Regions from separate parts of the Homo sapiens genome. Here region 2 is linked to region 1. Evidence: promoter capture Hi-C in 16 types of primary human blood cells and fetal thymus (Javierre and others, 2016). All regions are on one chromosome and are shown on one strand. Each heading gives the region's core, a stretch centred on a gene start or on the middle of the fragment in contact. The rest is flanking DNA. Distances are from core to core; before and after follow the strand shown.

Region 1 (4,629 bases), core at 1,473-3,972:
TTATTAATGAATGCAGTATGTGTTCTTGGTAAAAGCCAAAATTAAACTGGCTCACTGTTTTTGTCCTGCTAGCTGTCGACATTTAGGTGTGTTGCTTGGTGTGGTGACTCAATTTCCTGTGGGATAGTTGGCAACTCCACTTTGAGGTTTGTTCGGCGGGATGAAAAGGTCAGTTACTTGATGTCTTAGAACACTTGGGGTTAAAATTCCTAAAAGTGAAGCTTTACAAATGATCCTGAAAAATCGTGGCTAGCTATATTGCCTACTCACCTAGGAATTTGGAAAAAAGCAATATTCTCAGCTCTATGCTAATATCAAGAATAATTCTTTATTTGAGCAACAGTTTCACAGAGCAAACTTTACTCTGTTAGTAATTATTTTCTCACTAGCATGTAGATGTGTTCCAGTGATTTTTCATTTTTCTTATTTATACAGATGTTAGAACTTAAAATATATGCTTACCCCATTTTATCATCATACTCAAATCCTGTCTGTCAAAAGTGGCTGGTGCATGGCTTGGACATAAAATGGATATTCTGAAGTAAATTGTTCCTCCTGTCACTATACTACCTTCTTAAGAACAAATCCTGTGTATAAAGTGCATGATGTCTTGAAGCATTAGCCAAAACTTTCCTGAATTATTTTCCACATTAAAAAATAACAACTGAAATATAATGTGTGGAGCCACATCCTGTTAGATTTGAAGCCTGAGTCTGAACAGCTTTGGGAACTTGGTGAAGATGGAGGAAGGGGGCAGTTTACTTAGCTACTGGGAAATCACTTGAGGCTCAGGCTTTGAGAAAGTTGGAGTGCAGGGGAGAGGAGCCACAGAAAGCCGAACCTCAGAGGGGACTCCCAGCTTCATTGTAACCAATGATTGAAAAGATGGCACTGAACAAATCCCAGACACAATGGTTATGCATCTTTAATCCACTGGATAGGCTAACTATGGACAGCTCAAATGATCATAAAACAAGTCAATGTCCTCTTAAAATTTCCTACATTCCTATATTATGGGAATGAGAGAGAGAGGAAAATATCAAAACCAAACCATATAGTAGATGCACTACCATGGCAACTAGGTGATGCTATACTTGCATATGGAAGTTATTCAGTAAAATGAAAATGATTGTGTTAGAGCCATAGGCGAAAGTATTGTTTGTGATCTTTAGGGTGTGGGGTTACAATGGACTTCCTATATTTGTGTGTAATGCTTCAATTTTTATAACAAGCATGTAATATTTTTTACATTCTTAGAATTGGGGAAGCTATACAGAGCAGGTATTTTATATTTACCATTTAAAATTATTAATATCTTTAAGCTTGTTAAGGGGGAAAAAAAAGCTTCAATCTGAAACTTTAATTCACCTGGCAAGGTTTAGGCAGTTGTTTGTCCATCTAAAGTATATATTTACATAGACTGCGGGGTGGAGGAAGTAGAACAAAAAAGAGGCAAATTTTAACCTAGAGTACTCAAAGTGAACAGTAAATAGTTCAAGTATTCTTGATAACAATAAGCCACGTGGCACATGTAACAACTACTTTAAAAGTTACTCTAACTTTTACAAAGTTCACATAAAAAGCTATCTCAAAAATCCCAGGAGCCTAAATTCAGTCCATGAACTTTATTTGTTGTGCCATGTTAATTTATGGAGTCTAAATTTCAAGGGCAGAATTTCTTCTCCAATACCTGTAGATTCAAAGACAAAGACAAGGGATCCCACCACTTAGTGTAAGTTTCTCAGTATCTTCTTTCCACTCGACAATGACAAAGTTTTATCAAATGGACCCTTGGGAGTTTGACTTCTCCTCACTATGAATGGTTTGCTTATTGCATGCTAATGTAGAAAAGTTCTCCCACAACTGATCTGCTTAGGGACAGTGTCCCTGGTGCCCTGGGTCAGCCTTTGTAAACAGAACAGGCTTTTCTGTATGCCTTTGAATATGGTCTTTCCGTTTTCTCAAAATTGTAGTGTACTCTGCACATGGTGGGTAGAAACACCCTTCCAGATTTTCTTCCTTGGCCCAAGATCATCTAGGTCTTATGCAATTCACAGGGGAAAGGAGTAGTATGCAGGACATGCGTAAATTCTCCTTACCATGTGGTTCTTTCACATTGCTGTTCCTTTAAGAGAACTCTTAGGCAATTCGGCATATGAAAATGCAGCCTATTGTCAAATTTGTGAATTATAAAGCGTTCCGACCCCACAACATTGTATATTTTGTTTGCTTGTTTCTGTCCGCCCCAACATTTAGAAGTCTGGTACTTAGTAGGGACTGGGCTGGGTAGAAAAAGAATGCGGTCTTAATTCCCACAACCCTGCCTCCTTGAAGTAGGTGAATCCTAAGCCTTTAGAAACGAACCCCCAGAAACCCTAAAACTTAAACCCTCAGAAACCTTGAGGGTCCTAAATAACCTTGTTTGTGAAACTTCGCAGGAAGCAGCCGGTCGTGGAGTCGCAGAGGCTCCAGCGGTCTGGGCAACCTGGAGGGCAGTGGCTCGGCGGGGCGCGCGGGGTTCTAGCGAGACAGGTGCGCGGCCGTGCGCGCCTGCGTGCCGGTCCCTCCTGAGCCCCGCGGCGGGCGCGACCCCGGACGGCGGACTGCAGGCGCTCCACGCCGGGTTTTCCGCCGCTCTCCTAGCACAGACAGTCCCACAGCAGCCCCACAGACACACACGCTCGCGCCCGCGCCTCCTCGTCTGCACTTCAAAGCGAGTGGCGCCCGGCTGCGCCGGGGGGATGGCACTGCGAGGTGGCGGGGCCCCCGGGGCAGAGCTCGAGGGGAAGGACGCGGCGGGTGGCACGGACAGGGACAGGCTTTTGCAATTCGGAATCTTTTCGTAAGGGGGTTGAGGAGGAGCCAGGCAGCGCCGAGGGCCGAGAGGGGCGTGAGGGGGAGTGTTCCCGGAAAGCTGCGGCGTTGGAGCCGCGCTGCGCCTGCCGCCCGAGGAGTTGAGAAAGAAAACAGGAAACGTGGTGGCCGCGCACCCGGCCGCGGCTGATTCATTCACTTCAAGTGCCGTGCAGAAGGCTCGGCAGGCGGGGCGGGCGTGGGGCCGCGGCTCCGGGTTGGGGACCGAGGAGATCCGGCTGTGGACCAGACGCTCCTCTGCGGGGCGGGCACCCAAGCGCGCTCGCCACCCCCTCGCCATCCGCTAGAGCCGGGCTCCTGGACTGGGACTCGGGCCCGCCGCACAGTTGAAAAGTCGCATAGTGGTTTTTCCGCTCGCGTCGCTGTGTGAAAGTTGGCTCGCCGCTCTTTGCACGCCCTCCCTGGAGGCCGACCCGAGACGCCAAGCTGGAGAGACCGTGCCTCCCCGAGGCCGGCCGCCCCGCGAGCACAGCCTCCGCCCCCGTTGCACTGCCGGGCTGGGCAATATGAAGGAGCAGCCCTCATGTGCCGGCACCGGGCATCCGAGCATGGCGGGGTATGGCAGGATGGCCCCCTTTGAACTCGCTAGCGGACCCGTGAAGCGCTTGAGAACTGAGTCCCCCTTTCCCTGTCTCTTCGCAGAGGAGGCCTACCAGAAACTGGCCAGCGAGACCCTGGAGGAGCTGGACTGGTGTCTGGACCAGCTAGAGACCCTACAGACCAGGCACTCCGTCAGTGAGATGGCCTCCAACAAGGTAAGCCCCGGTTCTGCTGTCACTGGTGCCCCCAGGCTGCTGATTCCCATGCCGGCGAGCCACTGGTACCCATAGCCCCGGGAAATAAATTGAGAGGTTTTTTAGGCTTACTGCATGTTGGCTATTCTGCTCCTTAGAGGGAGGTTCCTGTTTCCTTGCTTTGCCTCCCCTAGTCACGCCAGATAAACATTTTCCAAAAGCAATTTGACGTGCTAAATTTAAGTATCTCCCAAGACACAGGGTTCCTAAGTAACACTGAGCCCTTGCAGCAGAAACCCAGTAGGGTCCATGGGCATTGCATGTTTAAAGGTGTTCTTGGGATTCCCGGTTGAAAATAAGAATTGGTGGATGTCTGTGAAATCACTTGAATGTCACCACCTAGGGCACTCAAACTCAGAAGAGTTCATCGAACTTGGAACCTTCACCCTAATTCATCTAGTTGTCAGGGTACCCCGCAAGAACTGAGCCTTTATATATTCAGTTGGCCATACATATCCGCAGGAAACATTAACAGAGTTAGAAGGTTCCTTATGATCATTACTTTTGTTTCCATTAATCTTGGAAAGAAAGCCCAGTTTTTTGAGGTCATTTAGTACAAGGAGGCTTCAACTAGGCATCTGTGCCATATGTGCTAAGGTGCTGGTCTTGGCAGTTAATGGAGTTTTGAGGGCTGAGAAGTAACCTTCAGCCTGGGACAGCCTTAAAATAGCACGGAAGGCAAGGTATAGTGTTTTCAGTTTTGCTGTATTTTTTGGATTTCCTGTTCTTTTTGTCTTTAGTTATGCAAGGAGATAATTGGAATTGTGTATGTTTTTAGTGGCTATTTGCCTGTGCATGTCGTATGCAGATGGCTGAAGGATTCAGCCAGTAAGGACTGGTAATGTTGTGAGACAATTAGTAATAGTTGCCTCGTCAAGATATTTAAGTATTTTTGGCCACCTATTTACAAGGTCAAGAAGGTTATATTATCTTACAGTTCATCTATGTGCACATATCTTTA
Region 2 (4,689 bases), core at 1,883-4,382, 4.7 Mb after region 1:
ACTTAAATAGTTCTTAAAAAAGAAAATCAGGTGGTTCTGACATTTTATTATTTTCTTTATTTACCGGATGTGTTTTAAATTTATAAATTGCATCACAAAGCTGTCTTTGAGGTGCCAAACCTATCAAAATGCTTAGTGAAAACAAAATTGATAACTCTGGTTAATTACTCAGGCTAACCTCTAGATAGGCATAGTCTAAAGGTGAGTGGATGAATGTTTGTGGGCCCAAGGTTACCTTAAAAGCAGATTAATTTATTTGCCAATTTACTAACAGCTTTGTGTCAAAATCAACAGGTCACAAATTTGACTTGGCCTTTTTGTTTTACCTGGGCTCAAGTTTACCCTAAAAGCAGATTAATTTCTTTGCCAATTTACTAACAGCTTTGTGTCAAAATCAGCAGGCCTCAAATTTGACTTGGCTTTTTAAAAAGCTTTACTTGCCATACATCTTAGTTTTACTTTTATATTTAAAAAAAATCATTATTTTGCCACTTTATCCATCTAAAATTCACAAGTGCAGTGACCAACCCCATAAAAGCCAGTGGCTACTCTTTGGAGGTGAGAAAAGAAATCTTAAAGGAAACAGTTTAGTTTTTGTGAGTGTGCCAAGTGTCCCCTGTGAAAAGATTTCAGAAAATTCTTTAGCATTAAACTGGATGGAAACAAACAGAAAAACCATCTCAAAACAAAAAACTAGCCCTCCCGAGGTAGCCTTTTTGTGTTCACCTTTTGCTTGTCGACTTTCAGAGAAAATGATGTGCCACACATTATTTTTCTCTTCCTGTCTTTCGGATTGACTTGCTTGCTTATGCATACTCTGTGTGGCGTTTATTAAAAGCCCTATTTCTGAGGAATAGAAATCAATTTATTTGCATCTGGTATCTTATTTTATTTTTAAAAAATTCCTGAGTTCTTTTACTTACCTTGCAGGGAAAAAAAATGCTCCTTTCATTCCAAGTTTGACTCCAGATTTTGCTGAATGGATTAGAGTAAGTTCCCTTTCCATGCACTGACAAGAATGATGGTGTGTGTCATTTCTTTTTAATCAGTATTTGACTTTCTTGTGTTGTTCCTGTTGGAAACTGGAAGAGAGAGCTGTGTGTGTGTATGTATCTATTGTTCATTGTTCTTTGGGCTGGATGTCGTCACTTAACCTTTTTATTTGGAGGAGAGTGGAAAGGAAGAAGGGAGAGAAAGGTGGAGGTGCTATTTTGTCTTAACAGGATTAATCCTTTTAATAAGATTGAGATATTAAAACAGATGAAGAAGCTCTACTGATCTTCGGGTCGCTGTTGATTTCTTAAAACAAATGTTCTCAGAAGTGACAGTCAAGGTGAGGGACAGGGATAGTACTTTAATATTTAAGACAGGGTTTTATTGATTTCAGTCGAGAGAAAGAATAGAAATTTGCTAATCCTAATCAATTAGATGTATCACCTGGTGCGGTGCCTGACTTGGTTTCTGGCATGTATTAATAGTTAGGGCCCGATATTTTATTTGTTGAATCAGATGAATATGAAATGGAAAGGAAAATTCTGCTTTTTTTCACCAGTTTTTAAACTGAGACAAGATAAAATCTGTTTGGATTAGGTGTTTTGTTCAGGGGAATGCAGAATGTATCCTTTACTCTTAACTTGAAGATGATCAAGATATAATCCTTTTAGCCAGGGTGGCAATTTAAACATAAAAATCTCTGTTTTCCAGTTGATGAGTGAATCTTCCTAGAAGGGCACACAACTTTTCCCCTTTCCATGATGGGGTTTAAAGGCCATGTTTACATCTGCCAAGTCTCTGGGTAAACATTTAGCTGCTGTCCCAACAGGCAGTACCAGCATCTTACTCTTTCTTCTCATAGGTAGAACTAGTAACACAATGTGCAGAGCTTTTTGGATAAGGTAGGAGAAAATAGTCAGGTTAAAATGAAAGAGAAAAACACATTTCTCGAGTTTTCCTGGGAGGTTGGACAAGATCAACTTCTAGATTCCTTTCAGTTCAAAATTTTCTGTCTTGACTCATGTGATGATTGATCTGGAATTAACCTTTTTTCCCTCTGCGCCATCAAAACAACAGTGGTAGAATTGGTTGTACTCTGTGTAATACCTATGATGATTAAATGAGATAGTGGAGGGAAAGCCATTTGTAAACAGTACGTTGCTTTTCAAATATAAAATGTTAACGTATTGTGTGGCTGGGCGAGGTGGCTCACGCCCGTAATCCCAGGACTTTGGGAGGGCAAGACAGGCGGATCACTTGAGGTCAGGAGTTTGAGACCAGCCTGGCTGACATGGAGAAACCCCATCTCCACTTAAAATAGAAAAATTAGCTGGGTGTCGTGGCGCATGCCTGTAATCTCAGCTACTTGGGAGGCTGAGGCAGGAGAATCGCTTGAACCCAGGAGGCAGAGGTTGCAGTGAGATCGCACAACTGCACTCCAGCCTGGGCGACAGAGTGAGACTCCGTCTCAAGACAAAAAAAAAAAAAAAAAGTTAACGTATTGTGATTATGTTGCTGATGTTACTTTTATACCTCCTGTAGAATGACTGTTACTGCTTAGTGGTATTGAAATACCTTTTAAACTAGTCTCAATTTATGGAAATACTGGGAGTTGTAATCAACAAGCAGGAAGTCACAAGACTCTTTTAAGAATCTTTTAAAAGCTACGAAAATAAAACCCATTTGAATAATTTATCTATTCAACAAATATTTATGGAGCCCTTACTTTCTGCATGGCCCTGAAAGTCATGCGGGATGAACCCTCAGCTGTAATATCCTCCTTGACTGCAGGACTGGCAGTCGTGTGGCTCTAGAGGAACCTGTGGCAGGACAGGTTAAGTAAGGCACATAGGGGAGGGGGTAGCTTCTGATGTGCTTCTTTGCTTTCTAGTACATTTCTCTCATTTTGTGTGTTTTATTGTGAACTAAAATATAAACTTAGACTTGAAAATGTGACAAGTAAAAATGGTTGATTAGTCTTGGATGCTAATTGTCAATTAATATTCATTGCATTTGTTTATAGTAGCCTCCACCCTCCCATCCACGGTTTTACTTTTCAAGGTTTCAGTTAACCATGGTCCACCGAGGTCTCAAAATAAGTGAGTAAAGTACAATAAGATATTTTAAGAGAGAGAGAGACCACATTCATATAACTTTTATTACTGTATATTGTTATCATTGTTCACTTTTATTATTAGTTATTATTAATCACTTACTATGCCTAATTTACACATTAAACTTTATCATAGGTGTGTGTGTATAGGAAAAAATATAGTGTGCTCTGTGCTATGTTAGTTAGTTCTATGATAGCTCAGTACTATCTGTGGTTTTAGGTATCCACTGGGACTTGGAATATATCCCCCATGGATGAGGGGAAACTACTGTACCGTGTTGGGGATTTTTTATTTATTTATTTTTTTTTTGTGACAGAGTTTTGCTCTTGTCATGCAGGCTGGAGTGCAATGGGGTGATTCTCCTGTCTCAGCCTCCTAAGTAGCTGGGATTACAGGTGCCCACCACCATGCCCAGCTAATTTTTGTATGTTTAGTAGAGACGGGGTTTCACCATGTTGGCCAGGCTGGTCTCAAACTCCTGACCTCAGGTGATCCACCTGCCTCGACCTCCCAAAGTGCTGGGATTACAGGAGTGAGCCACCGTGCCCTGCCAGTGTTTGGGATTTAATAAGATTAGATTTGATAGGTTAGTTTAATAAGATTTCTTTGTATAGACTGGTGGACTTGACCTATTTAGTTTCTTGGTTATAGGCTGTATCTGCCATCATAAAAATGTATGTCTCAGTGGGGAAGATGTGGTGAGAGAATTGGGTTGATCATCACAAATCTGTCACCATTTGCAGGATAAAAACCAGCTAACTAACCAACAATAGAAACCCATGATGTGCTACAAAGGGTAGAGCCCACAGGCACTATGAAATTGTAAAGGATCCTACTTGAAAAGAGGAGTGAAGGTACATTTGTGATTTCATATTATGTTCAGTTATCTGTGAACTGAACTTCTTTATTGATAAAAAAAAAAGTACATTGTTTCGTTGTTTTTAACCCTGAATATCTATGAACATTGTAAGTTGTATTTATTGTGACTAACTTTAAAGTGATAATGTAGGTCACTTTTTAGTCTAAATGTCGAGTGGATTAGGCAGTCATATTAAATATTCCTTTCTTAATAATTTATAAGATAAAAATTATCTGAGCACAATAAACAGATCTACCATATATGGAGTTCATATAGCAAAAATGTTTTGAGCAAATCCGTACCATTAGGTAGGAACTTTTCTACAAAGGTGTTAAGTCTGGTTCCCAAACTTCTGTGGCTCCAGTCTAACAGTATGAGCCCTAGGAGAGGACACATAGGGACCTTGATTCATGCCCTCCAGGGGCTTGCATTCTGAAAGATGCCAAAGCCACATGCTTGTTGGCATGTGGGCAGTGCTCAGGTCGGGGGTGAGAGGAGATAAGTATATGAGTTATAATCAGGAGGGCAAAATCAGTTAACATTTATTGAACACTTACTCTGTGCCAGTGTTCTAAGTGCTTTGCATGTGTAATAGCATTAAACTGAGGCTCAGGGAGGTTGTGTAATTTCCTCAAGTTCACACAGCTAGCAAGTAGTTGAACTGCGCTTGTGGCCCCAGGGCCCTCCCTCTTCATTGCCTTCCACCTACAAGTAGTTCCCTTG

What was found. Contacts are between HindIII fragments. The CHiCAGO score rates a contact against its expected background, and 5 or more counts as called.
Region 2: a fragment that was not itself captured here is called in contact with the fragment with the promoter of PDE4D-AS1 in region 1 in 1 of 17 cell types (monocytes); the score reaches 5.7 in monocytes.

The regions. Positions count from the first base shown.
Region 1 is chr5:59,037,859-59,042,487 of GRCh38, reverse strand. PDE4D-AS1 (PDE4D antisense RNA 1) reads right to left here and starts at 2,722. Exons shown (of 2, transcript NR_198970.1): 1 at 2,418-2,722. PDE4D (phosphodiesterase 4D) reads left to right here. Exons shown (of 15, transcript NM_001104631.2): 6 at 3,517-3,629. RefSeq lists a silencer at 3,284-3,353. The HindIII fragment of the contact is 4,461 bases long and covers 1,347-4,629 here.
Region 2 is chr5:54,304,188-54,308,876 of GRCh38, reverse strand. All of the region lies in intron 1 of ARL15 (ARF like GTPase 15), which reads left to right. Among named protein-coding and RNA genes, the nearest start is that of ARL15, 4.0 kb to the left of the region's middle. RefSeq lists an enhancer at 3,542-4,205. The HindIII fragment of the contact is 5,398 bases long and covers 434-4,689 here.